Regions from separate parts of the Homo sapiens genome. Here all the other regions are linked to region 4. Evidence: promoter capture Hi-C in 16 types of primary human blood cells and fetal thymus (Javierre and others, 2016). All regions are on one chromosome and are shown on one strand. The core of a region is centred on a gene start or on the middle of the fragment in contact, and the rest is flanking DNA. Distances in the headings are between cores, read along the strand shown. Region 1 overlaps MOSMO (modulator of smoothened). Region 2 overlaps UQCRC2 (ubiquinol-cytochrome c reductase core protein 2). Region 3 overlaps UQCRC2 (ubiquinol-cytochrome c reductase core protein 2). Region 4 holds the start of IGSF6 (immunoglobulin superfamily member 6).

Region 1 (6,665 bases), core at 3,291-5,790, 430 kb before region 4:
CAAGGAATCATGCAAGCGGGACAAGTTATTTTTATTCCCTTTAGATCAGCCACACTGGCAATGCAGGACAGCAGGAGTCCTAGATCTGAAGTCAGGGAGCCTGGCTGTGAAACCCAGATTCACCAGTTGCTAGTTACAGAACCTGGAGTAAGGTGTTCAGCCTTTTGATCCTTGGTTTTGTAGTCTATAAAACACCACCCTGTACTTCACAGGTAGAGGATTAAGATGACATATGGGAAAGCACATAACACATGAATTTACTGTTAGTTTCCTTCTCTAAACGTAGAGAATGCCACTATTATTTAACCACAGTGCTTTTGAAAATAGGAATTCCTTTAATAGTTGATACGCTTCAGTTAGAATGTCAGGTTATTATGACATTTGAGAAGTTTTTGTTATCCAAGGCCTAAGTTCACAGCAGCATTATCTGCAATAACAAAAATCTGGAAGCAACCTCATGTACATCAAAATGGGAAGACACATATTTGATATGTATCAAATGGAATACTATGCATTTAAAATGAGGAAGCTCTATATTTACTGACACAGAAAAATCTACATCACAAATTAAGTCAAAAAAGAAAGCCACAGGGCATGCATGGTGGCTCCCAGCACTTTGGGAGGCCAAGGCAGGAGGAGACTGGGAGACGACCCTGGTCAACATACTGAGACCCCCATCTCTATAAAAAAAAATTTTTTTTTTAATTAGCAGGCCGTGGTGGCATGCACCTGTAGTCCCAGCTACTTGGGAGGCTGAGGTGGGTGAATCGCTTGAGCCCAGGAATTTGAGGCTGAGGATTGTGCCATTGCACTTACTCCAGTCTGGGTGACAGAGCAAGACCCTGTCTCAAAAAAAAAAAGCAGTGGCAGGTATAGATAATATCTTGCTTTTGTTAAACTGATCAGTAAAATGTCTGTTAAAATACCCAATAAACTGTTAACAATGGTTATCTCTGGAAGGTGGATTGTGGAGGAGGGAACTTTTTGTTTCCTATATTATTTTTGTGTTTTTTAAAAAAATCTACAGATACATGTTATTGTAAAAAGAAAATTTGTGTCCCGGCTCAAGGTCATAATTTCTTTCTCCACAATAGCACATAAGGCAGGAAAAAGTTACTGATAACCCTGAAGGCAGAAATTAGGTAAAGTATTGGAGTGGTGCATGTAAGGGTGGGACTGCACCAAATAAGTTCATTTTGCTGCTTACTACCTATCTTAGTAAAACATTTAGAAGATGAGGTAGTCAAAAGCCTTCTTAGATATGTCAGTTTTTAAAGAGCAATTTATTATGGAAAATGGAAAGGATTTTGGTTCTTCAACTTCTTTGCATTTGTCATAGAAAACAAAGGAATGGAAAAGAGTGAGTTTTCATATTTTTTATTTAAGAAAATACTTGAATTGCCTTAGACAATATTAAATATTTAAACAACATGAGAAAGAGTGCCAGAGGTCAGAACATAGTATTTAGTTCACTGAGTTGCCCTGACAGATAATGAATGGGGATTGATTTAATAGTGACCAAATACACTGGCCATATTTACTAAAGTGCTGTAAAATGGCCAAGTGAGGACAACTGCATCTAAAATGAGATCAAATCCTCGAGTCCATTCCTTTTAGCAGAAATGATTAAAACCATCTTGGCAGGACCAAGTCTTTGCAAAACCTATCAAATGGATGGATGGCTTCAAGACAGCAGAGAACCCACAAGCTTGAAGAGGCCTCCGGAGAGTTCACTCAGGATAAACGGGGTGCTGGCATCGTCCTGGTCCTCTCTGTACAGTAACAGTGTTACAGCCCTGTGAGTTCAGTAGTAAAGGATCTGGAGTCCATGGGGAAATTCTAAGGAGATCAATGGAACTGATATATTATATAGCCAAATACTTATTAATAAAGTAACCATCCTTATAAAGGCTGATTTAGGCAAGCCTCTGCCTTCAGGAGGAAGTTCACTGAAACAAACCTGGCAGATTGATGACTCTGTCTTTCAAATCTCCAGGAAATATGGTTTCATAATTTTTCTTTATCACCTAGCCCCAACTTTAATTTTCATAATTCAGTGTGTAAAGCACTGTGCCAGGTTTCTAGTGAGTACACAATGAGGAAGCCATACTCTTTGCATTCAAGAGTTTATATAGTTATACAAAAGCACTTACTAATGACAATATCAGCAACTAACATTTGAATGCTTACTATGTGCTTGGAACTTTATCTCCTTTAAACCAACAATAGCCCCATTAAGTGGGTAATATTATTAGTCCCATTCTACAGATGAAAAAACCAAGGCTCACGTAAGTTACATGATTTACTAAGGGTCACACAACTGGAATGGTGGAATTGAGATTTAATCCAGGCAGTCTATGCCTGTTTAGCAAGTTCTGTTACAGAAGCATAAGAAAAAGAGACACAAAGCACAAAAGATTAGATATATTTCAAATATGGGAGGACTTTAAAACTGAGAGGAGGTGGTACAGACACAACCGGGGCAGGGAGCAGGTTGTAGTGAATCTAGAATGGAGAACAGGCTGGTTGTCAGTAAGAAGTGACGAGAGAGAGAGGTGGGAAATGACTGAACAGAGAGCTTGAAGCCAGATCACGAAAGCTTGTCAAAGCTATGCTAAAGGAGTTTGGATTTCATTCTGTAGACAATGGGAATGACAGAAATGTGAACATGGAAATAATATGCTTTCTTTTGTGTTATGAGTATCTTGGCAGAATTGATTTGGATGGATCAGAGTGAATGGAGACCAGTTGAAGGAAGACTGGTTCAATGGCTAGAGAATATGAATGTTGGTCTTAAGTCCAAGGCCCACATGTCAAAGACGAGTGCTCTGCTGATATCTAGTTGAGTGACTTTGGAAAAGTCTGAGGCCTCGATTTCCTCACCTGGAAAGTGAAAACACTGGACATGCTCTTTGACATTTCATCCAGCACTGAAATTTTATAGTCTTGTGAAAAATCTCTTCTTGAAATGTTATCTTGGGTGGTCTTAGATTGTGTGTGACTGGAACTGGGGCTGATTTGTAAAACCCTTGAATGTGCTTGAAAATACCAACCCACAGTGTTTTCTTCTCCTGGGAAAAGAACCAAAACTCTTAAAAAATATACATTGTGCTTTCTATCTTTAATACCATTTATAAATAACTACCTTTATTTTTGTTGCTGGGTAACTGTGACCCAGAAGAGTTGACTTTGCATAAAAGGAACCCAGAGTCCTCTAGTCTTGGTGTTTTTCCTATAATCTTCTCATAGTGGCTAGAATAGAGATGATAGAAGAATAAGTCAAAATAAAGTATTTTTGAACCCATGTTGTTTTCAAAGCCACTGTGTTACCTTTTCCTAAGGTATTACCAAATAGAAAAAGTGTCCCCTCCACCATAGCAGCTCAGCATAAATCTACCATTACAATTTCCAATTGACCTATTCATTAATGTTTATAGAAAATAACCCCCCAAAAACCTCTAATCTGTGTTACAAATCAGGAGAAGATTTAGATGATGTGAAGATAGGGTAGGGTGACCAACTTATCCTAGTTTGCCTGGAACTTTCCCAGACATAGTACTTCAAGTCTCACCTCCAAGGAAACCCCTTAATCTTAGAACCCAAGAACATCTAAATCTTACCATGTCTTAATCCTCCAATTCCCCAGGAGGCTCCTCAAAAGGCCACACAAGGAAGAATCAGCAGCAAACTGTAAATATTTTATTATTATTATTCGGTTGGGCTAATCTTGACACCCCCAGAGAGAGCTATAGTTAAGCTGTGACAGGGCCTAAAGGCCTCTGTATTTGCTCCTCCAGCCCATACTTTAAGATTTTAAAAGCTAAGATCTTTTGGCCTGGAGTAAAGTAGAAACAGAAGACTGAAGCAAAGATGGACTTGGGTCTATGTGCAAGGAAGAAAGAATAGAAAGATAGTTGGCTTGAGGGCTTTGGCTTGGTTTCTCTCTCCTAGCTCATGGAAGCATGACGCAGAAGGGAAAGCCACATGTATGTGGTCTTTTATTGCTGAGTGACTCTTGGGTAATCATGGCCTAATCCACGTCCTGGAATATTAATGGCATCTCTTCTCTAGCGGTGAGCAAAGAGTGGGAGTGGAAGAAGATAGGGAAAGACCGCCCTCACCCCCCAATGCCAACAACAAAAAACCAACCCAAGAGGCATGGAAGTGGCACTTGTGAATATGTGAAACCTCCATAAGAAATCAATTTTTTAAATGAAGCTTATTTCAAAGTAATAGAAGCCTTTTTAGTTTCTTTAGTAGACAATTTATTTTGATAAACTTGCTCAATAACAAAAATACAAGTGAGGAAAATTATGTTCATTTTATACAGTTGTATTAACAATTTGTTTTGAAACTATTAATTGAAAAATGTTATAACCAATTAGAAAACAATTCTTAATAAAGTTTGGGATAATATACAGACCTTGATCACAAACTTCAAAATCTCTTGAGGTGATACAACTAAAAGTCCTGTGTAGGGAATCCTACCTACACGGGCCACTTTTTTCCTTCATGTTTTTATCCTTCAAAAATTTTCTGAAAGACAGCTTACTGTTTTGAATTGTGAATGTAAATTTAATTTTTTAAAGATGAAGTGGGTTGATAAAACAGTTACTATAATCAGAGTAACTTGTGGCTAGTAGTCTTTTAATAAAGACAAAATAAATGCAACATGTTCTTCCCATGAAGCCCATGATGCAAAATAATAGCTAACAGCATATGCAAAGTTAGTTTCCAATACTGTATTTTTCAGGGCCTTTCCTCTAAATCAACAGATTGTTTGTCACCAGGACTATTTATTATTTCACTTAATAGATTAAACAGTGAATTCACAGAACATCAAGTGGGGATATCAAAGCTTTAGGCAAAAGGGTAAAAACCAATAGTGTTTTGGTCATCTAGAACATTAAAAAGAAAAAAGAGCCATCCTTCAAAAACAAAACAAATGAAACAGAAAATAGGTTTATAAGAGGTGGAAGAGTCAGAAAAATTACATACACACATTAACAACATAGAACATGGATTACCTTTGGAAAGAATCATACTGAAATGTTTGCTTTTAATAAATTGAAGATTTTTCATGTTTACAGATGTTTGGGTATGTTCAATAGGAGCTTCCAAAAATGTCAAACTAATTCAGTCTTGTGCAAATAAAACCTAAAAATAGTTTTCAGCAGATTTTACAGTGATATTCTTAGGTATGAGAAGAATGCACACACTCTAAAAACAATGAAACAGACAAAAGTTTGACAAATGATTGCACCATAAAACAGTGTTTTATATACAGTTTACAAGATACGATTTCCTGCTATAAATTAATACTGTACTATATAGTACTTATTATAGTGACCTTTTTTAAAAGCAACTGCGGACAGTTGTCTATCTTTTCACTTATAGGATTTATAGAAATCTATATGAATGAATCCATTTCAATGTCTGGTCTGCAAGAGTACGAAGACTTGACTTCACATACTACTTGATGGGATGGTTTAATCCTGGGTTAGAGTGCTGACTGGCTAGAGGGAGTTTTCCCCCATCAGCCCTGTATGCACTGGACCTCCAAGACAACAATGAAATTAAAGACAATTTAATGGTTTGGGTAATAGATACAAATAAAACCTTAAATTTTGTAATCTTAAATGCAATACCACCATAAGTGAAAGAAGTAAACAGTGGGGAAATTCTTAGCAGCTGAGAAACTTTCTCTCCCCATGCTCATGATCCAGTTAAAAATATTTTGAGAAACTATTTACAATACAATTCATCTTTTGGAAGAGAAAAGCTCTTGGTCATGTCATAAGTTAATTTGAACCATACTTTGCTAACACTTTATCTCAGTGGTATATAACGGTGACAACCAAAGCTTTCCTTCAAAGTGATCCATTTGACTGAGGACCAATCAAATCAGAATAGCAACTGCAATCCCAAATGTCCATAGAACATGTCCAGTGGTATTCTTAGACTTGACTAGACATCATCATACTTGGGGAGAAACAGTCTCCCTCAGGATCTCCCAAAGGTTTCTTTTACTCTGGGAAGGAAAAGTATGACATTCTCCCAGAACACTTAAGAAATGCACCACAGTGGTGGTCCATCTCTCTCCCCAATTCCTGAGTGAGCTCAAACACTGGGGTTTTCTTTCACAATAAAATACTGCTGAATTAACAGTAAGATAGAAGACTGTCAAACAAGCCAGTGTGAAACACATCAAGCACCTCCATTTCATAGTGTGAATATCTGAGGAGGTAGCTCCCATCTTTGAAGTAATCATTCTAGAACTGATAATCTAGCCTTAAAAACAGTGCGTTCATTTCTGCTTGTGTGAAGCATGGGCCACATGGGACTCTACTGACAGGGAGTCATTTGGGTCATCAGTTCACTATAAATGACAGGGACATTTGGGTCACCAGTTCACTATAAAGAGGAGAAACTTAGCTCCACTGCCATGAAACACCCTGTCCCACATTTCAAACAGGAGATTATCTATAGTGTTCACCAGGAAAAACAAGCATTGATGCGAAGGCATGGAGATGTGGAGAAGAGAAATACTGTATTTTAAAACTGTGAGTTCAAGGGTTAGCTGCAATGCTTCTTTTAGGGAAGAACTTAAAGCTGTGGGTTTAGTACAGCCCTTTAAAGTAAATGCAAAAATATTAGCTTTTAGC
Region 2 (6,309 bases), core at 2,535-5,034, 310 kb before region 4:
TGGTTTACAAATTTAAATGTTGGATTCTGCTTTCCAAAACAAATGACTAGCAATTAAAATCCTATGATATATTGCCTGTCTGACATAAATAGAAGGCCGAAGTTTTCAAATTTTGTTCAATCCTATGTTCACGTAATTACAGTTTAAGGAACTGCTCTTAAGGAAGCAAACTGACAGGCAGGCAATACTCTAAACTTACCAAGTCCAATCAAAGCCATTCTTGCACTTGTGAAATGGTTCTGAACGAAGTAATGTAACTGAGGAAGTTAAAAACACTTATTAGGTTATATTAGCATAAATATAAAAAGCTGTAAAAACATAAAAGTACAGTTTGGAAGAAAATAAATACTTATAAGGCCTTATAAGTTGCTGTAATGAACTACAAGGTACTAACTGAGGTGAATTACCCTGGGATTTTATTATAAAAACTATTGCTTAAAAGAACTAGAACCTAATTGTGGTCATGGTTGCACAACTCTGTGAATATAATGAAAACCACTGAATTGTGTACACTTTAAATAGGTTGTATAGTATGGTGAATTACATCTCAACAAAGCTGTTATTTATAAAAGGAATAAAAAGAGGCTGGGTGCAGTAGCTCATGTCTGTAATCCCAGCACTCTGGGAGGCCAAGGCTGGCGGATCATTTGAGGCCACGAGTTTGAGACCAGCCTGGGCAACACAGCGAAATCCTGACTCTACTAAAAATGCAAAAATTAGCCAGGCATGGTGGTGCACGCCTGTAATCCCAGCTACATGGGTGGCTGAGGCACGAGAATTGTTTGAATCCAGGAGGCAGAGGTTGCAGTGAGCTGAGATCGTGTCATTGCACTCTGGCCTGGGCGACACAGCAAGACTCTGTCTCAAAAAAAAAAAAAAAAAAAGGAATAAAAAGAAATTAGAGCATACACTGGCCTAAACTTGAAAACGTGGACTATGATTTTTATTATAATGTAGCTTACGTAGTATGTCAGGTTTCTTTTGTGTTTATATAAGTAGTAATGAAGCACTATTAACATTCTATAACAGGGCTAACAGAGTTTTACCACAACACCCTTCTCGTCCATCTTTGAAGCCAATCTCTATAAAGCTTTTCTGACCATGAAGTCATTGTCTATACCAGGGTGTCGAAACTGTAAGATCACAATTACTCAGCTTGAAAAACAAAAACGGTCACTGTCCCCCATTCTTGGGACTTACCCTACAGACTGATATAAAATATTAAATGTGGAATCCTAGAATCCTTATTTAAAACCGACCAACTACCCATCCATCCAATCAACCACTCAGGCGATCTGAAGATTGGTGAGACTTGGTTATCACTGGTTTATATTACCACCTTAGGCTTAATATACAAAAGTAGGGCTAAAACATGTACTTTCAACAGAAATGCTATCCTTTCCAGATGGGTGAAAATTGGTTTGGGGTAACTAAGAAAAAAAAAAAACTTACGACTTCTATGTAAAAAGTACAAATATACAGCACATAAACTCTATCTGTGGTATTAAAAGTAAGAGGTTTAGAAAAAAATGGCTAGAAAGGCTCCTCAGGAAGGAAAGTGATAACGTTTTGAGAATCACTGGGCTAAAGTAATGAAACTGAACTTTTAATCAATTTATCATAATCCGTGCCCTAAAATGAATGGTGTCTGTACCTATGGAGTAACCTTGGAAAGTCATACTCTTTTTCTATTGATGTTTTTCTATTGATGCTGCCATTGCTCCAAGTATTCTAGCGCCAATTTCTTTAGAGTTTCCTTTAGCCTAGGGACACATTTAAAAAATACTATTAACTTTGAGATAACCAAGTTATCACAGTTAACATCTTGATATTTGTCTATAATGCATACATACATACCTTTTATTAAAAAAAAGGGACCTTTTGGTATGTCCTAATCCATAAATTGCTTTATGTGACAACATGCTGTGGAGTTTTATGTATCAACTAATATTTTTGAATGGTTGAATACTGTTCCATTCTATAAGTTATTTAACTAGTTCCCTAATGCTGGATATTAACTTGTTTCTAATTTTTCACAATTATAAACTAGTATTACAATAGCCATCCTTGTAGATAAACTTTTGCTAAGTTTTAGCTAACTTAATGACACATCTTCATGAGGGTGAATTTGATTTCTGAAAAATTTCAAAACTCATTAGAGTCCAGTCTTATGAAAACGGCTGCCTGTTCAAGTTGGATGATGTAAGTTAAAATTTCTAAATAAAAGTGCCATATGAATGAAAGGCATCAAACTGTTAATTGATAAGTCAAAAAGAGCAAGGGATACAGTTTAGTTTTCTGTAACAGCTAACTAAGAATAAAACGAGAATAAAAACCTTGAATTTTTGAGTCAGATATACTTTGAAGGTGTTGATAATTACAAATTTTTCTCTTAATGTCTTTTGATAAAATTTGTTTTTGGGTCTGGGTGGTAGGAATAGGAAATTAAGATTATACGCACATATCTACACTTGTAGATTTAGCATTCAATGTTTCATGTTTTGGAAACAAAGTTCTAAGATGCACATATGGCTGTGGCATGTGACAAACCCCTATAGCCAGCAAACGGAGGCTGGTGTGCTGAAGAACGTGAATGAGTGAGCGAGGATGGAACAGGAGCTAAGGAAGTGGGCTCAAGTCTTATTTACAAATTCAGAGAGACCAAAGAGTTTTAGTCAAAGGACCTATTTTATATATATGTATACACACACACATATATATATATTTTTTTTTTGTAGAGACAGGGTCTTGCTATGTTGCCCAGGCTGGTCTTGAACTCCTGGCCTCAAGTGATCCCTCTGTCTTGGCCTCCCAAAGTGCTGAGATTACACGCATGAGCCACTGGGCCCAGCCCCTATTATGATACTTAAACATTTAAATACTGTTTAAAAAAGATACACAGGCTGGGTGCAATGGCTCATGCCTGTAATCCCAGCACTTTGAGAGGCATAGGCAGAAGGACTGCTTGAGCTTAAGAGTTCAAGACCAGCCTAGGCAACACAGCAAGACCCCGTATTTAAAACAAACAAACAAAAAAGATACATACACACAGAAAACGGTTTAGAAGAAAATATACCAGGTATTAACACTGAGTGCCTTTAGGTATGTGAGATGTTTTCTTTCCCTTCATTTTGTTTGATTTTACTTTTTAATTTTTCTGTAATGATCATGTCCCTTTAGTCATGAAAACATTTCTTAAAGGAGACACAAAAATTGTTCAGATAAAATTTTAGTTAAAAAGCAGGTGGATGAAAAAGCTAGCACGCTGAATTTCTTAAAGTTAGAAGATAAAAGGAAAAATTAACAAACAAACCTGAAATGGGAGATGTTCAATTTAATGTGAAAAACAAGCACATTTCAAAATATGTTTTATTGGTACCTCCTCTGATGTCACTTTTCCAATCCTATAGTCAGGACAATACAAGGGATTAGCCAAGGCATTCCGGTAAGCTGCTGCATGCAAATTTTCAATGACATCTGTGAGATAAGTGAAGAAGCATTTAGGGAAATGCACTTTCAGTAAAGACAACATTTTTAAAACCTAGAAAGCAACAAGCCTATACAAATTTGGTCATCTTCTGGCATTCATATGTTAAGAGGACTTAAAATTTATTATTATTTAACCTCTAGTAACTGCCAGTTTCTGCCAGTAGAATGTGCTGAGAAAAAAATAAAAAAGATTACATGGCAGCAGCTTCTATATACTGGAGTCCACCTAAACCACTTTTCTAACTTTAACCTAGCTGGTATCACTTGGAAGGTATACTGGCCTGGGTTTTGGGAAGTCCCCATCTAGTTATGGTTCTGCCGCCATCTTGCCATGTGACCTTGGACAAGTCATTTAATCTGAATTTTACTTACTCCTAGGTTTCCTCTCTAGGTAATAAGGAGATTGTCAGGTAGCTTTCAGGGGACCAATGGGAGCTTCCACTGGGACTTACTCCTCTGTGGTGCTTGGTGCTTTCCCTGCTTTCTTGCTTCAATGCCTTTTTGCCTGCAGTATTTCCTTCAGTTGCTCATTACCTGGCAACTTGCCTATGCGAGGCACTGTGCTAGGTGCTAGAAATACAGAGATGTGGAACATACAATGCCTGCCCTCAAATTTTAAGAGGAAAAACTGTGAAATAAAGTATTATGGGTGCAATGTCGGCAGTGTGTCAAAAGTGCAGTAGAGGTACAAGGCAAGGGCAGTGGGAATTGGAAAACAATTAATACAAGTAATATGTGGGATCCATCTTACAGAATGAGCTGGTGTTTCCCAGGGGAAATCATTTGGGAACAGCATTTTAGGCACAGGAAGCAGACAAAACAAAGGCATAAAGTATAACAATAATTTGATTCAAATGGGAATTGCAGCTGGAAGGAGAAGAGGGTAGAGCATAAAGTAAGAGAAGTGGGCTGGGGTAAGATCACGCAAGGCCATATACGTATATGCTGTTTGGACTTTATCCCATAGATAATAAGAAGGCTTACTTTCACGTCAGAAGGATCACTGTAATGGCCGTGTGGGAGATGGACTCAAGACGTAAACCTGGAGGCTGACACCAGCCAGGAGACTACACAGTAACTGTTCAGGCAGAATAGATGCAGGCTGGTGCCTCACTGCCGCCAGTGGGGAAGAAGCCACTCTGGACACATAGGTCATCTTTTCTAAAATTGTACTATTCTATCTATTTCTTCAGTAGAAATCCTGAGCAACAAAGATAATGCTCCTCTGTGACACCAAGCATCATCATGAAATAACATCAGTCCCCAGGCCTGCATGTGGAGGGGAGCCTGTCCCATGCTGAACCACTGAGTTGAGCTATTTCTGCTCTTCCTGCACATTTCTGCTCCCACCAGAAGTTGTATGACTCCCAAGAGTCAGCGGCGCTTGCTTACAGACTTGTATTACCAGTTGTACTTGTCAAGATTATATAATTAGACATTATATAAACATAAAATATGAATGCAAAAAAGATTCCTATTAAAAAAATTAAGTTACTTACTTTGGAAAGACTCAATAAAGAGGAGATGGCTAAACAATAATAGCAATACAATAGTAAGCAATAATAGCAGCAGCAATAAACTGGTGTAGGATTTGGGGTAAGCAAAACAACTCTTAAAAATCACTAGGGGTCAGGCACAGTGGCTCACGCCTGTAATCCCAGCACTTTGGGAAGCTGAGGTGGGAGGATCACTTCAGCCCAGGAGTTCGAGACCAGCCTGGGCAATAGAGTGAGACCTCATCTCTATAAAAAAATAAAAATAAAAATTAGCAGGGTGCGGTGGTGTGTGCCTGTAGTCCCAGCTACTCAGGAGGCTGAGGTAGGAGGATCACCTGAGTCCAGAAGGTTCAGGCTGCAGTGAGATTGTGCCACTGCACTCCAGCCTGGGCAACAAGCAACACCCTGTCTCAAAAACAAACAAACAAACAAACAAAAACAAAACATTGGGAAGGAAACAGGAAAAACTTCTAGGATCTTACAAACAATTTACTTACCATCAAACATGAAAAATGATTATAAATGTTTAGAAACAAAAGAATAATAAATCTAAATAACAAATTTTTGAAAAAGATATTTTCAAATTCAAGGAGTAAAACATTTGGCCAGGCATGGTGGCTCACACCTGTAACACCAGCACTTTGGGAGGCTGAGGTGGGTGGATCACTTGAGGCCAGGAATTCAAGACTGAACTCCAGTCTGACCAACATGGCAAAACCCTGTTTCTACTAAAAATACAAAAAATTAGCCAGGTGTGGTGGTGCACACCTATAATTCCAGCTGCTCAGGAGGCTGAGGCAGGAGAATTGCTTGAACCCGGGAGCTGGAGGTTGCAGTGAGCCAAGATCGTGCCACTGCACTCCAGCCTGGGTGACAGAGTGAGACTCTGTCTCAAAACAATAAATAAATAAAAATAAAAATAAAAATTTTGACAGCAATTTTTTTTCTTCTATAAATTGATCTTCTAAAAAACCCAGTATCTTAGAATCAAATGTGATCTGGAAATGTACTTACGAGTCTGCGGATTCTGAAAGGCCACAGCTTTGTCAATCTTTAGCTGAGGCTGAAGGTCAGCTACTTCCCAACGACGAAATTCTGGTGCTGTGGTGACATTGAGCAGGAACTCCATTAGAATATCACTACAGAAGACATCGAGATAAGAATTATGAGTCAAAAATGTAAAGCCAACATTTGAGATTCTACATAGCTGTAATGCTCTCAATGTGAAACTTTAGGTCTTGTGGTAAGCAGTGTTTTTGAGCAGTTTATGAACAATAATCCAAAATGGAAGTCAGAGGTCATAATGACGCATTACAAAGACCAG
Region 3 (6,402 bases), core at 150-2,649, 330 kb before region 4:
TTGACTTCTGGCCAGAAACAAACTTCTTTGCCGCCTTTAAAGAAACAAACAAAAGACAAAATTAACAAAAATAAAAATATATATCATCAAGCAGGCGAACTTATTTTGTCATTTCAAGAATTTATGGATAGGACATTCTTTTTTTTTTTTTTTTTTTTGAGGTGGAGTCTCGCTCTGTCACCCAGTGTGGAGTGCAGTGCTGCGATCTTGGCTCACTGCAGCCTCCGCCTCCCAGGTTCAAGCAATTCTCTGCCTCACCCTCCCAAGGAGCTGGGATTACAGGCATGTATCACTATGCCCAGCTAATTTTTGTATTTTTAGTAGAGACGGGATTTCGCCATGTTGGCCAGGCTGGTCTCAAACTCCTAGCCTCAAGTGATCCACTCACCTTAACCTCCCAAAGTGCTGGGATTACAGGCGTGAGCCACCAACCTGGCCTTCGATAGGACATTCTAAGCCAGCAATTACTATAATAGCTGTTGTGAAAATTAACTAGGAGATGGCTGGTGCTTTAATTTGGGACAGTGTGGGAGGAAAAGCTTAGCTGTTTCTCTGAAAGTCCCATTGTATGTGTAATGAACCAAGCAAGAGCAACACTGGTAAGAGGGTAGCTGTTCAAAGAGAGATAAGGAAAACAACACTGACACTGTCAAATAGAGTAGTGTGGCTTCAGGCAGGGATATACTTTCCTGTTTCGGTATTACAATGGCAAATAGTCTGGGTCAATAAAAATACATTGATTGTTAACTTAAAAGTAAAACTTGATACCCTAGAGGATTCTTTATGCCACTACTTCCAAGTTCAAAGGCTGGTTAAGTGTAGTATCATGAGTCAGGTGTAGGTGGAGCAGCAGCCCCCATATTCTGTCAGGCCAGCTTATCTTATTACTATGAAGGAGAGGTGGTGGTGGAAGCAGTCGGGTTGGGACGCACATAATGATAGGATATAAGATGAAGACAGCCATTTAAAAGAGTACCAAATGGGCTGGGCGCGTTGATTCACACCTGTAATCCCAGCACTTTGGAAGGCTGAGGCGGGTGGATCACGAGGTCAGGAGATCGAGACCATCCTGGCTAACATGGTAAAACCCCGTCTCTACTAAAAATACAAAAAATTAGCCGGCCGTGGTGGTGGGCACCTGTAGTCCCAGTTACTAGGAAGGCTGAGGCAGGAAAATGGCGTGAACCCGGGAGGCGGAGGTTGTACTGAGCCGAGATCGCGCCACTGCACTCCAGCCTGGGCAACAGAGCAAGACTCCGTCTCAAAAAAAAAAAAAAGAAGAGTATGAAATGACGATTGGGGCGAAGTGAAATCAAGTCAGGGTTACTATCTTAAAATAGCCTTGTCTCTTTTTTATTTGAGACAGGGTCTCACTCTGTTGCCCAGCCTGGAGTACAGTGGCATGATCTCGGCTCGCTGCAACCTCTGCCTCCCAGGCTCAAGCCACCTTCCCACCTCAGCCCCATGAGCTCCTGAGTAGCTGGGACTACAGGCGCATGCCACCAAGCCTAGCTAATTTTTGTACTTTTTTGTAGAGATGGGGTTTTGCTACATTGCCCAGTCTGGTATTGAACTCCTGGGCTCAAGCAATCTGCCCACCTCAGCCTTCCAAAGTGCTGGGATTACAGGAATGAGCCACTGCACCCAGCTTAGTTTTTTATTTTTTCTTATCCCCACTGTCCCTATACAAGGTAGACCTGTTGGTGAGAAGATGGCCGAGACATCTACAGTAGAAAGCAAGTTGGCAAGTTTAATGTAGAAAATGGGGAAAACCCACTTACTTTGGATTAATTCTGTAGGTCATGTGCTTGTTAGGCACAGCAGGGAACACAAAGAAGTACATGACATAGTCCTTGCCCTCAAAACAGCTCAATATTGTAGGGAACAATAATATATGTGAAAAAAAAATTAGCAAGAACAAGAGAATGTCCTAGGCTGAGAAGAGTAAAGAAAATCTTAAGATGCTAGATGGTGAAATATTGCTAGGACTGAAGAGGAAAAATAGCAAACTTCACTATTTAGGTTGGATCATATGAAACTGCTAATATTTGACTCTTCTTTACTTCTAGTCATCTAACATAAGCCCATTTTATAAACTACCATTAGTTTAACCTAACGTTTGATACGTTAGGTGTATTAAATGCACTTTTGACTGCCATCTCAGTGGATGGCAGCCCTCTTACTGACATCACAGTTTAACCTAATGGTAGTTTATTTGAAGGAGGAAGATACATATACTCGAGCTGACAGGGAAGCTTGTTGCGGATCTTATGGGAATGAGCCCTCCTGCCTCCACATTAAGTAGATGAGCACCAAACATAAGAATAATACACTGCCCAAGGACGCTTATGCATCCTTCTGAAATTGGATCATTAAGGTTAAGTTCTCTGTTGTTAAATCGTTAAGTTTTCATTTACTTACATTTATGATATCAGCATTAGCCACTGAATCAATCTGCTGAAGGACTGTGGATGGTGGCATGTAAGAACCAGCAACTAGAGCCTGGGACCCGACTTCTTCCAGGAAACACTCAGAAGACTCCACTGACATTAGGTATCCAGCTTTCAGCTTGTTCCTGTCCAATAAAAGGCAGAAGTCAGTTTTAGAGAGCAAGGCAATTATTTTTTTTTTCTGAGTGGTGGCGGGGGGCTGTGAACATCAAAGCTTTATTTAATGGATAGAGTAACAGCGTGTCTCCCTCTTCCTGAATTCCCCAAGAAGAATGCCACTCCCTTCTCTGGAACATACTAAAACAGTAAGTCTGAAGGGAAGAAGTCTCTTCAGGGTTGCCAAAGTGTCCAATTGAGGGCCCACTTTGGCCTCCATTTGTGGGTCCATATGCTGCTACAGATTTGAGTGAGACAGCTGGAGAGCTCCCTAATGCTTCCCAAGGCCTCTGGATCCGGTTGTGCAATCTGGATCCTCTGCATGTCACTGGCCAGTCGCAGCATGCTCTTTCTCCTGCCCACTGGCACAGTGAGGAAGATCTCTCTGCTGTCAGTGAGAAGGCTGTCATCCACTGAGATGGCAGTCAAAAGTGCATTTAATACACCTAACGTATCGAACATCATAGCTTGGCCCAGGTTATCTCATATGTGCTCAGAACACTTACAATAGCCTGCAGCTGGGCAAAAGTCTTCTAACATAAGCCCATTTTGTAAGGAAGCATTGATTATCTCATGTACTGCATATCACTAGCCTAGGAAAAGATCGAAATTCAAGGTATAGTCATGTACTACATAATGATGTTTTTGGTCAATGATGGACCACATATATGATGGTGGTCCCGTTAAGATTATTAGGGAGCTGAAAGATTCCTATTACTTACTGACAACATAATGTTGTAGTGCAATTTTAAAAAAATAAATTTAGCGTAGCCTATGTTTACAGTGTTTAGTATCTACAGCAGTGCACAGTAATGTCCCAGCCCTTCCCATTTACTCACCACTCACTCACTGACTCACTCGAAAGCAGGAGCTATGCCATAAAAATGGCATACCATTTTTTTATCTTTTGTGCTGTATTTTTACTGTACCTTTCCTATGTTTAGATGCACAAATACTTACCTTTGTGTTATAACTGCCTACAGTATTCAGTACTATAGTACATGCTATACAGGTTTGTAGCCTAAGAGCAATAGACTATACCATAGAGCCCATGTGTGTAGTAGGCTATACCATCTAGATTTGTCTGAACACTGAGGTTCACACAGTGATGAAACCACCTAACACCACATTTCTCAGAATGTATCCCCATCGTTATGTGACCCATGACTGGAAGCTGAAATTGCGATGGTTTTCCTCCATAGTCAAGTTGAAAAATTATAATTGATCCATGGCAAGTTGGGGACAGTGTATATTGTAAACCTACCTTTTGGCTGCTACAGTGTGAAGACCAGGGATCTTGAAGAGCCTTCTGTCAAACCAGGGTGTCAGGCCTGTACTTGGTGTCACCACAGACAACTCCACCTGGCCCACAGCTGGGGTCACAGTGTTATAAAGGTCACAGTCTTGACCTTTTCCTTTTGCCTTTTCCTTGTATGAAGTGGGTTCTCTTCTTGGATGGAGGATACCGTTCAATGCTTGTAGTTTGAAGATTCTCATGTTTATTTTCTTCTTATGCTATCGTTTCACTTGTATTACCTGTGAGTTTTGGCAGGTTTCGGGGGTGTCTGAAGAGCTTCTGCTGTCTGTTTATTTCTGTGATATCCACTTCAGCTGTTGCTGCCTCTTTTAGGGCCTGTTTGTTTTCACCAAGGGTGAAGTAGTCAAGCCAGTTCCTCTTACACAGTGAAACAGGGCAATTTTAAGGTATGTGCCCCGAAACTCAACATATTTTTGGTAAACAGGCAAACTAACAACTTACAGTGCTAATGGCCTCCATTCTATTTCTTCAGTTCACCAAGTACGTGAACCGTTTACGTTACTATTTGGAAAGCTGTCAGTACGAAATTATACTGAAAACTCCACAGATTGCTTTTTGATTTGGGACTAGAACTTAGATCTAGGTAAAACTATTTTAATGTAAGGTTTTGATTAGTGAAGCAACTCCTGCCTCTTGCTGAGATTTGTCTGTGAGCATAGGGTATGATGGAAAAGGCAGGTGGGGAAGGGCAGTACAGGTCTTGTAAGCAACGGCAGCTTAAATATGGGCACAAAAGCATCCACTTGAAATAAAACAAAATCCAATTCACAATTCTCCCAGAAACTTATTACTTATAGACATGGTGTTTGATAAGACAGTCGAGTTATTTGAACCTCAAACGTTTATCATCCTTTAACACTCTACAGAAAGACTTCCATTTAAACATAATTACAATTTAATGCTGCAGTTTTACCACGTTGTCAGCTTAATTAAAAAATGATTTTACCTGCAATAAACTACCAAGAGGTTATTAGTGTGTCCTTTCGGCAATGACACCTCACTTTCTCTCTTTCACTACAGGAAGAACTTACAAGAAAAAGTATCAACTCCATCAAAATGGCAGAAAACATACTTTGACATTAATATTCAAAATTCTACTTTCTGCTTATTACCATACCTTGTAAGAACTGTGTTACACTTATTAAGAAAATACGTTTTCTTAAATAAATTAGATTTGAAAAACTTAGGTTTTTCTTAAGTAAATCCAGTGTTTCAATGTATTCTCATCATGTTTTGTTTCTGGTACAATCAAGCAGCCCTGCATCCTATCGATTCTTGGTTCTATGTATACAATATTTAATAAATTGTGTTGTACTTATACAAGAGATGCAACTTTGTAGTGTGCTCAGCATAACAAAACTAACAATACTAATGGGAACAGAAATGACCAAAAGGTTGTTCCATCCTGGGTTGTAATTCTGCTTCCCCTGTGGGCAATACTAAATGATCATAACGACCACTGGAGTTGCAAGATTCACATTTTGAATTGTTCTAAGTAGATGGAGTCAAACTTAAATGTCTTAAGCGGCTGTATGAAAATGCAGGTTGATTTCCAACTTTGTCCCAAGTCTGTCTCTTTTAGAGAAACCCTCGAACTACTAATGAATTAGGAGTGTTGATAGCACTTTCAATCTGGACAGTGGGGATTTATAAATTGCCAAATAGCAGACAAGTATTTTAGTCTTTCTTATAAAACAAAACAAAATCAGATCTTTTTTGGGTATAAATTAGTTATGAAGAAAGAAACTATTGTAGAATAGGTACTCTTATATACTGGTGGTATGATTATAAACTGGTACAATCTCTTTAGATTTGTGACTTAGAAATACATTTTTTTTTTTTAAGAGACAGGGTCTTGCTCTGTTGCCCAGGCTAGTGTGCAATGGCGTGATCTTAGTTCACTGCAGCCTCAAACTCGTGGGCTCAAGCAATCCCCCCTCTTCAGCCTCCTGAGTAGCTGAGGCTACAGGCACACACTACCACACCTGGCTAGTTTTAAATATCTTTTTGTAAAGACAGTGTCTTGCCACATTACCCAGGCTGGTTGAACTCCTGGCCTCAAGTGATCCTCCTGCCCCAGCCTCCCAAAGTCCTGGGATTACAGGTATGAGCAACTGCGCCTAGTCAAATGTATTATTTAAACATACACACATACACACACTCTAACATGGAGTCTTTCGTTATGTTTATAACTCTTAACTTAGTTGGGAATCTACACCAAGAAAGTAATACGAAACACAAAAATATTTTAAGCCCAAAGATATCTTTATAACTGCAGAAAATGCACAAGTGTATTTTGACACACCAATGAATATTGTTTAAATTTTTAGTAATTTGAATCAATGGAAACAGAATCATTGCTAGGGAAATCAGAGATCATTTTTGTCTTTTATTTGTAATTTTCAAACTTCTATAATAAGGATGCTATTTAAATAAGATAAAAAAGTATACAGATGGTCCCTAACTTAACTTATGATG
Region 4 (6,318 bases), core at 35-2,534:
TGCCCAGAGTCTGGGAGAGACACAAGGCCTGGGAGCCGCTTTCCTGGCCTGCCGTGCAGCTGAGGCACTGGCACGCAGCCTAAGCCAGGCACACTTGCCCATGCCCTGGAATGGAGAGCCAGTGACCCAGAGTAGTGGGGATGTGAGCTTCTCCTTCTCTGGGGGTGGAGCAATGGCAGTGAGACCAAGGGGCTGGGGCAGTGGTTGAGCGATGCTGACAACAGGGCTGATGGCACCTAGTGTTTGGCAGTGGCAGTAGCATCCTCTTCAGACCTGTTTATGGTGTGATTTGAGGCATTCTTCCTGGCTGTGGACCCCACACAAGATTCACTAGCCCTCCCAGTGACTCTAGGATCTACCTTCAAATGTTTGCATAAATTTCCTTTTAAGTCAGCCTGAGTCTGTTTCTGCTGCTTTACAAAGAAGACCCTTACTGAATCACCACTAAGTGCTGGGGGAGAGGACACAGAGGACAGAGGGCCCACATATTTGTTTCTCAACACATTAAAAGGGGGTCTTTGGGCCAGGCATGGTGGCTCACACCTGTAATCCTAACACTTTGGGAGGCCAAGGCAGGGGGATCGCTTGAGGGCAGGACTAGCCTAGACAACACAGAATCTACAAAAAAAAAAAAAAATTAGCCAGGGGTGGTGGTGCATGCCTGTAGTCCCAGCTACTCAGGAAGCTGAGGCTGCAATGACCTGCAATCTTGCCACTGCATTCCAGCCTGGGTGATAGAGACCCTGTCAAAAAAGGGGGGAAGGCAGGTGTCTTTGGATTCAAAACTGGAGTACAAAAAGTTAATAACAGACAATTTATTTATTCGCTGCATTAGAATGTGTTGTTTACTAACTTTTCTCATCTCTACACAAAGCCACTTCTCCTTCTGCTGTTCTTTGTTCCCAGCAGTTACTGGCCCAGAGTGGCACCCAGAGCAGGTACCCTAGACAGTGACTGAACTGTTCTGAAAAATCCAAGTACGAATTATTTGTCAAACAATACTCCTTCCTGGAAATATGTGCTAGGTGTAAATCAAAATCTCACCCAGAAACATCTAACACCTATGACAACTGTAAAATCCATGGAAAAAAAAAAGATATGCACATTTCTAAATGTGCTCCAGGCCAAAATCTCAATGTTAAATGGTGAAGCCATCCTTGCACAATTTCAAAAAGTTCCTGATTATGGTTCCTTCATAAGAGGTTCCTCTCTTCAGCTCTTCTTCCCTTCTGAAAAAAGAAAGCCAACTTTCCTTTCAAATACACACCCCAACCCGCCCCGGCATACACAGAAATGGGGACTGCGAGCAGAAGCAACATCGCTCGCCATCTGCAAACCAATCTCATTCTATTTTGTGTCGGTAAGGTTCTTTTTCTTCTCCTCCTTCATTTTATTTAAATCAACTGCTATTTTTCACCTAATGCATTTATATTTTAAGCTCCTTCAGATTAATTTTTAAATGTATAACATTATGAAAACTGCCTAAGAGGATAAGTTTCCTTTTTCCCCTGAGAAATAGACAATAAAAAAATAGCTGAGAAAAAGTTTCATATTAACCTTGAAAAGTCTCTTTGCTATTATGCTAATTGGAGACAATCTGACCAAAGGGTTGAAAATATTCTTAAAATCGTAGGTATAAGTTATCAATAATTTAATTATCATACAAACTTGATCTGCACATAGAAAGCAATAAATGATTATTTGCTGAATATTTTCAAAGAACAATTTCTATAAAAGTACTTTTCATTTAAGAAAAAAAAAACTGCCATGACTCCAATAGCCATCCCATAGTATATCTATTTTTAAAATTCTGTCTACTTCTGTTTTTTTATCTATGAAAGAGAAAGGATTTCCAATACATCTAGTAATCTCAGATTTGCCCACACAATTTGGATTATAGGGCAGGGAAGGGGGGAAAGTTCTTAATTTTTTCTCATCTGTGAAGAAATATATCAAAATGTTAATGGGAGTTATTTCAGGCAAAAGGACTATGGGTGACTTTTTGCTTCTACTTTTAATAACCTGTTTTTTGCTAATAAGTATATATTACTTTCATAGACTATTTTAATTAGCATTATTTTAAAGAAGAATTCCTGTCTTTTAGAGATATATTCTGAAAGATGCAGATAAAATGGCTGGGATTTGCTCTAAAATAATATGGGAGTGAGGGAGTAGGTGGGAGGAGAAAAGAAACAAGATTGGGTCGAAGCCATGTGATGGCAGGGGGTTGACTGTACTACTTCGCTACTTTGATATGTTAGAAATTTGAAATCTAATATAATAAAGCTTTGGGCTGGGCGTGGTGGTTCATGCCTGTAATCCCAGCACTTTGGGGGCCAAGGTGAGAGGATCACTTGAGCTCAGGAGTTCAAGACCAGCATGAACAACATAATGAGACCCCCATTTCTACACAAGAAAAAAAAATAGCTGGGCGTGATGGCACCTGCACTGCACCTGCAGTCCCACCCACCTGGGAGGCTGAGGCAGGAGGATCACTTGAGCCCAGGACTTTCAGGCTATAGGGAGCTGTGATTGTGCCACTGCACTCCAGCCTGGGCAACAGAGCAAGACATTTACTTACTTCTTACTTACTAGATAGAGAGACAGCTTTGTTTAAATGTCAAGAATTAGTTCTCTTCCTACTTTCAATATGGCTTTTTTGTTTGTTTGAGACGGAGTCTCGCTCTGTCACCCAGGCTGGAGTGCAGTGGCAAGATCTCGGCTCACTGCAAGCTCCGCCTCCCGGGTTCACGCCATTCTCCTGCCTCAGCCTCCCGAGTAGCTGGGACTACAGGCATCTGCCACCACACCCGGCTAATTTTTTGTATTTTTAGTAGAGACAGCGTTTCACCGTGTTAGCCAGGATGGTCTCGATCTCCTGACCTCGTGATCCGCCCGCCTCGGCCTCCCATAATGCTGGGATTACAGGCATGAGCCACCATGCCCAGCCTCAATATGGTTTTTTAAAATAATAAGAATAATCTTTCTATTCCCTCCATGGAGGAAATAAATCTTCAACCTTTTCATTGGATACTGTGTTTAAAAAACAATTCCTAGAATATGAGGATTCTTAAAAGAAATCATTCACAGAAGCAGGCTGTGGTGTGACATATCCAAACTTCTCTTTTTTGTTAATAGGTTGCCTAACTGGTTGGGGGAGGGAACCACAGTTTCATCACAAGTTCCTGCTCACAGAGGAAATCATTACAATTGGTTTTCTCCCACACATAGCCTAATTGGGAAGAAGGTGGAAATAAGTAGAGATATGAAATTCCAAAGTTACAAATACCTGTTTTTATCCTATACTACTAGTTTTTAAAGAAAAGTGTTGAAAGTCAGCTATCCCCGCCACCCCAACCTCTATTTTTTTTTTTTTTTTTTTTGAGACAAGAGTCTCACTCTGTCACCCAGGCTAGAGTGCAGTGGCACAATCTCAGCTCACTGCAACCTCCACCTCCTACGTTCAAGCGATTCTCCTGCTTCAGCCTCCCAAGTAGCTGGGATTACAGGCGTCCACCACCACACCTGGCTAATTTTTTGTATTTTTAGTAAAGATGGGGTTTTACCATGTTGGCCAGGCTAGTCTCGAACGCCTGACCTCAGGTGATCTGCCCGCCTCGGCATCCCAAAGTGCTGGGATTACAGGCGTGAGCCACCATGCCCAGCCTCTATTCCTTTTATAGAGACAGGATCTCACAATGCTGCCCAGGCTGGAGTGCACGTCCAGACTCTATTCCTTTAATAGAGACAGGGACTCACAATGCTGCCCAGGCTGGAGTGCAGTGGTGCCATCACAGCTCACTGCAGCCTGGAATTCCTGGGCTCAATCAGCCTCCGGTCTCAGCCTCCTGAGTAGCTGTGACTAATGGCCACACCACCACGCCTGGCTCTTTGGCTTCCCTTTTAAAAACACTACCCAATTTGGAAGGCTGAGGCGAGTGGATTGCTTGAGCCCAGGAGTTTAAGACCAGGCTGGCCAACATCGCAAAACCCTGTCTCTACTAAAAATAAAAAAATTAGCCAGGCGTGGTGGTGCACACCTATAGTCTCAGCTACTCCAGAGGCTGCAGTGAGAGGATTGCTTGAGCCCAGAAGACAAAGGCTACAGTAAGTTAGCCAAGATCACACCACTGCATTCCAGTTTGGGCGACACAGTGGGACCCTATCTCAAAAATAAAAATGTGTAAATAATGGAATCGTCCACTTTTTAAAAATAATTTTACAAATAAAAATAAAAACATTATCTGAAAGATGACTTGAGACTGAGACAGTGCTTAACTTTGCTAAGTTTTGGCAGACCCAATTCCATTTTAAATTTCCACTCAGTATATACTATAAAATGTTTCACTGTACTTGTAAGGTGCTTGAGTCTGGGCAGGAGACATGAGGTTGTATTTCTCAGACTTGAGAGGGAATCCAATCCCCTTGGCTGGAGATGGAGCTGAGCTGGGCCTCCCACAGACACGAAGCTCAGAGAAGCTTGCAGGCCTCCTCCAGGTGACTGCACCCTCTTGTCTGGTTTGCATTTATCAGGTCACCACAGAGCTCCCAGCTCATCTCATGTTGCACAAATACTAAAATATAACATGATGAGAAGAGAGCAAGGCGCAGTGGCTCACACCTGTAATCCCAGCACTTTGGAAGGCCGAGGCAAGCGGGTCGCTTGAGTTTAGGGGTGCAAGATCAGCCTAGGTAACAAGGTGAAACCCTGTCTCTACAAAAAATACAAAAATTAGCTGGGCACAGTGCTGCAGGCCTACAGTCCCAGCTACTTTTGAGAAGCTAAGGCAGGATGATGGCTTGAACCTGGGAGGTCACAGTTGCAGTGTGCCGTGATTGCACCATTGCACTCCAGCCTGGGAGACAGAGACTCTGTCCAAAAACAATAACAAAAATGAAAACAAAAACAAAAAAACATGGTGAGAAGAGACTCGCATCACAAACGCCATGATTCTAACTTTAATTCCTCTGCTGTTATGAATGGGGATCCATAAGAGAAACGCTAAGAGAAAAAAGCCCCTGTCTGAAAATTAAGCATCAGACCACTTGGATGACTTTTCAGTTTCATTTACAGTAGCAAAGGACAAACTCACACAAATAGGACCATTTGGGAATATATGACCAGGCGGAACTCAGACCAAAAACTTGACAAATTCCAATTTGTCTCAACCAATACTATTTTACCTATGGCCTCCCCTGCCGCAAAAGAAGGGTTTAGGGCGGGTCTTTCCATTTGTGCACTCGAGTGGCTTTCCAGCTTCACATGCCTGGGATATAAAGGCCAAGGTGGGGGACTCAATCCTCATAACTTGGAAGAGCACCACATGGTGGACAGTACACTGGAGTGGGTGACTAATCCCAGCTCTGTGAACACCTTGTGGCTAGACGTCCACAACCATCTCTCCAACAGCCATCTGACACTGTGGGAACAGTAGCAGTGGCGGCTGCAGCAGCAATCGCTCCCTTGTATTTAATACTTACTATAGCTTAGGCAGGTAAACACTTCCTAGGCATCATCTTGAACGTCACACTAACTGCATGAGGTCAACAATACTATCCCCATTTTCTAATGAGGAAACTGAGATACTGAGATTATAATGCTGGGAACAGGCAGAGCTAGGATTTGAACTCAAGTCTGTGCTCTTTATCACAATATTGTTAATTAAATAAGATAAATGCTACAAGGGCCTACAAAGCAGCACACACGCCAGGGAGAAACCAAATCTGCTTAGCTATGGCCTGGCGAGCTCATATGGTCCCTGCTCAGTAATCAAAGACATGGTAGGCTAAGCCAGGGCTGCATTTCCACAGGTGTACATGTTGCCTTTTATCATGTTTCCCAAAGGGACACCAGGCTCACAAAGAAACAATTGTGAATGGCCATGAATTCCTGGCGATCTCAACTCCCACAAAGCACAAACATCGCTGCTGCTCATAGGCTCCATCAGCGGCAGCAACGTTCGTCTGGGGACACAGGTTACCACACTGAACACAGCACTCTGGGGAGGCCAGGGTGCGGACAAGAAAGCAGGCAGGAGATTAAGTGATTGGATCGAAGGAAAGCTTGTAAGGAGCAAGAGTCACAGATGGACCCCAAACTTCTGAGTCCAATACGGTGCCACCTCTATGCAGGCCTCCTGCACAGGGACTCTGTTCCCCTGAAGCCTCTCTAGGGCTGGCCTCCAGTGAACAGACATCATGTGACCCAGCAGGTCAAGGTCAGAAAACAGGAGGAGTTGGGGCAAGTGAGGACCACTGGTGTTTATTTTTAGTCTTATTTATATTGGGATTAAGGTAAGAAAAATAACAGAATGGCTG

What was found. The method cuts DNA at HindIII sites, captures the fragments that hold promoters and counts their contacts. A CHiCAGO score of 5 or more calls a contact.
Region 1: a contact is called between a fragment that was not itself captured here and the fragment with the promoter of IGSF6 in region 4, in 1 of 17 cell types (total CD8 T cells). The highest score is 6.6, in total CD8 T cells.
Region 2: a fragment that was not itself captured here is called in contact with the fragment with the promoter of IGSF6 in region 4 in 3 of 17 cell types (neutrophils, M2 macrophages and M1 macrophages); the score reaches 8.1 in neutrophils.
Region 3: a fragment that was not itself captured here is called in contact with the fragment with the promoter of IGSF6 in region 4 in 1 of 17 cell types (M1 macrophages); the score reaches 6.3 in M1 macrophages.

Annotation. Positions count from the first base shown.
Region 1 is chr16:22,082,231-22,088,895 of GRCh38, reverse strand. MOSMO (modulator of smoothened) reads right to left here. Exons shown (of 3, transcript NM_001164579.2): 3 at 4,242-6,665. LOC105371129 (a long non-coding RNA gene) reads left to right here. Exons shown (of 4, transcript NR_188624.1): 3 at 1,645-1,798; 4 at 2,702-3,101. Among named protein-coding and RNA genes, the nearest start is that of VWA3A, 7.0 kb to the left of the region's middle. The HindIII fragment of the contact is 640 bases long and covers 4,221-4,860 here.
Region 2 is chr16:21,962,576-21,968,884 of GRCh38, reverse strand. UQCRC2 (ubiquinol-cytochrome c reductase core protein 2) reads right to left here. Exons shown (of 14, transcript NM_003366.4): 6 at 6,000-6,124; 7 at 3,380-3,477; 8 at 200-257. It also overlaps a transcript of PDZD9 not described here. Among named protein-coding and RNA genes, the nearest start is that of UQCRC2, 12 kb to the right of the region's middle. The HindIII fragment of the contact is 5,384 bases long and covers 1,093-6,309 here.
Region 3 is chr16:21,976,720-21,983,121 of GRCh38, reverse strand. UQCRC2 (ubiquinol-cytochrome c reductase core protein 2) reads right to left here. Exons shown (of 14, transcript NM_003366.4): 13 at 2,422-2,575; 14 at 1-34. It also overlaps a transcript of PDZD9 not described here and the pseudogene LOC100420644. Among named protein-coding and RNA genes, the nearest start is that of PDZD9, 21 kb to the left of the region's middle. The HindIII fragment of the contact is 1,716 bases long and covers 542-2,257 here.
Region 4 is chr16:21,647,574-21,653,891 of GRCh38, reverse strand. IGSF6 (immunoglobulin superfamily member 6) reads left to right here and starts at 1,284. Exons shown (of 6, transcript NM_005849.4): 1 at 1,284-1,360. The coding sequence starts at 1,294. The region is part of intron 4 of METTL9 (methyltransferase 9, His-X-His N1(pi)-histidine); the gene reads right to left. The HindIII fragment of the contact is 3,735 bases long and covers 1-2,288 here.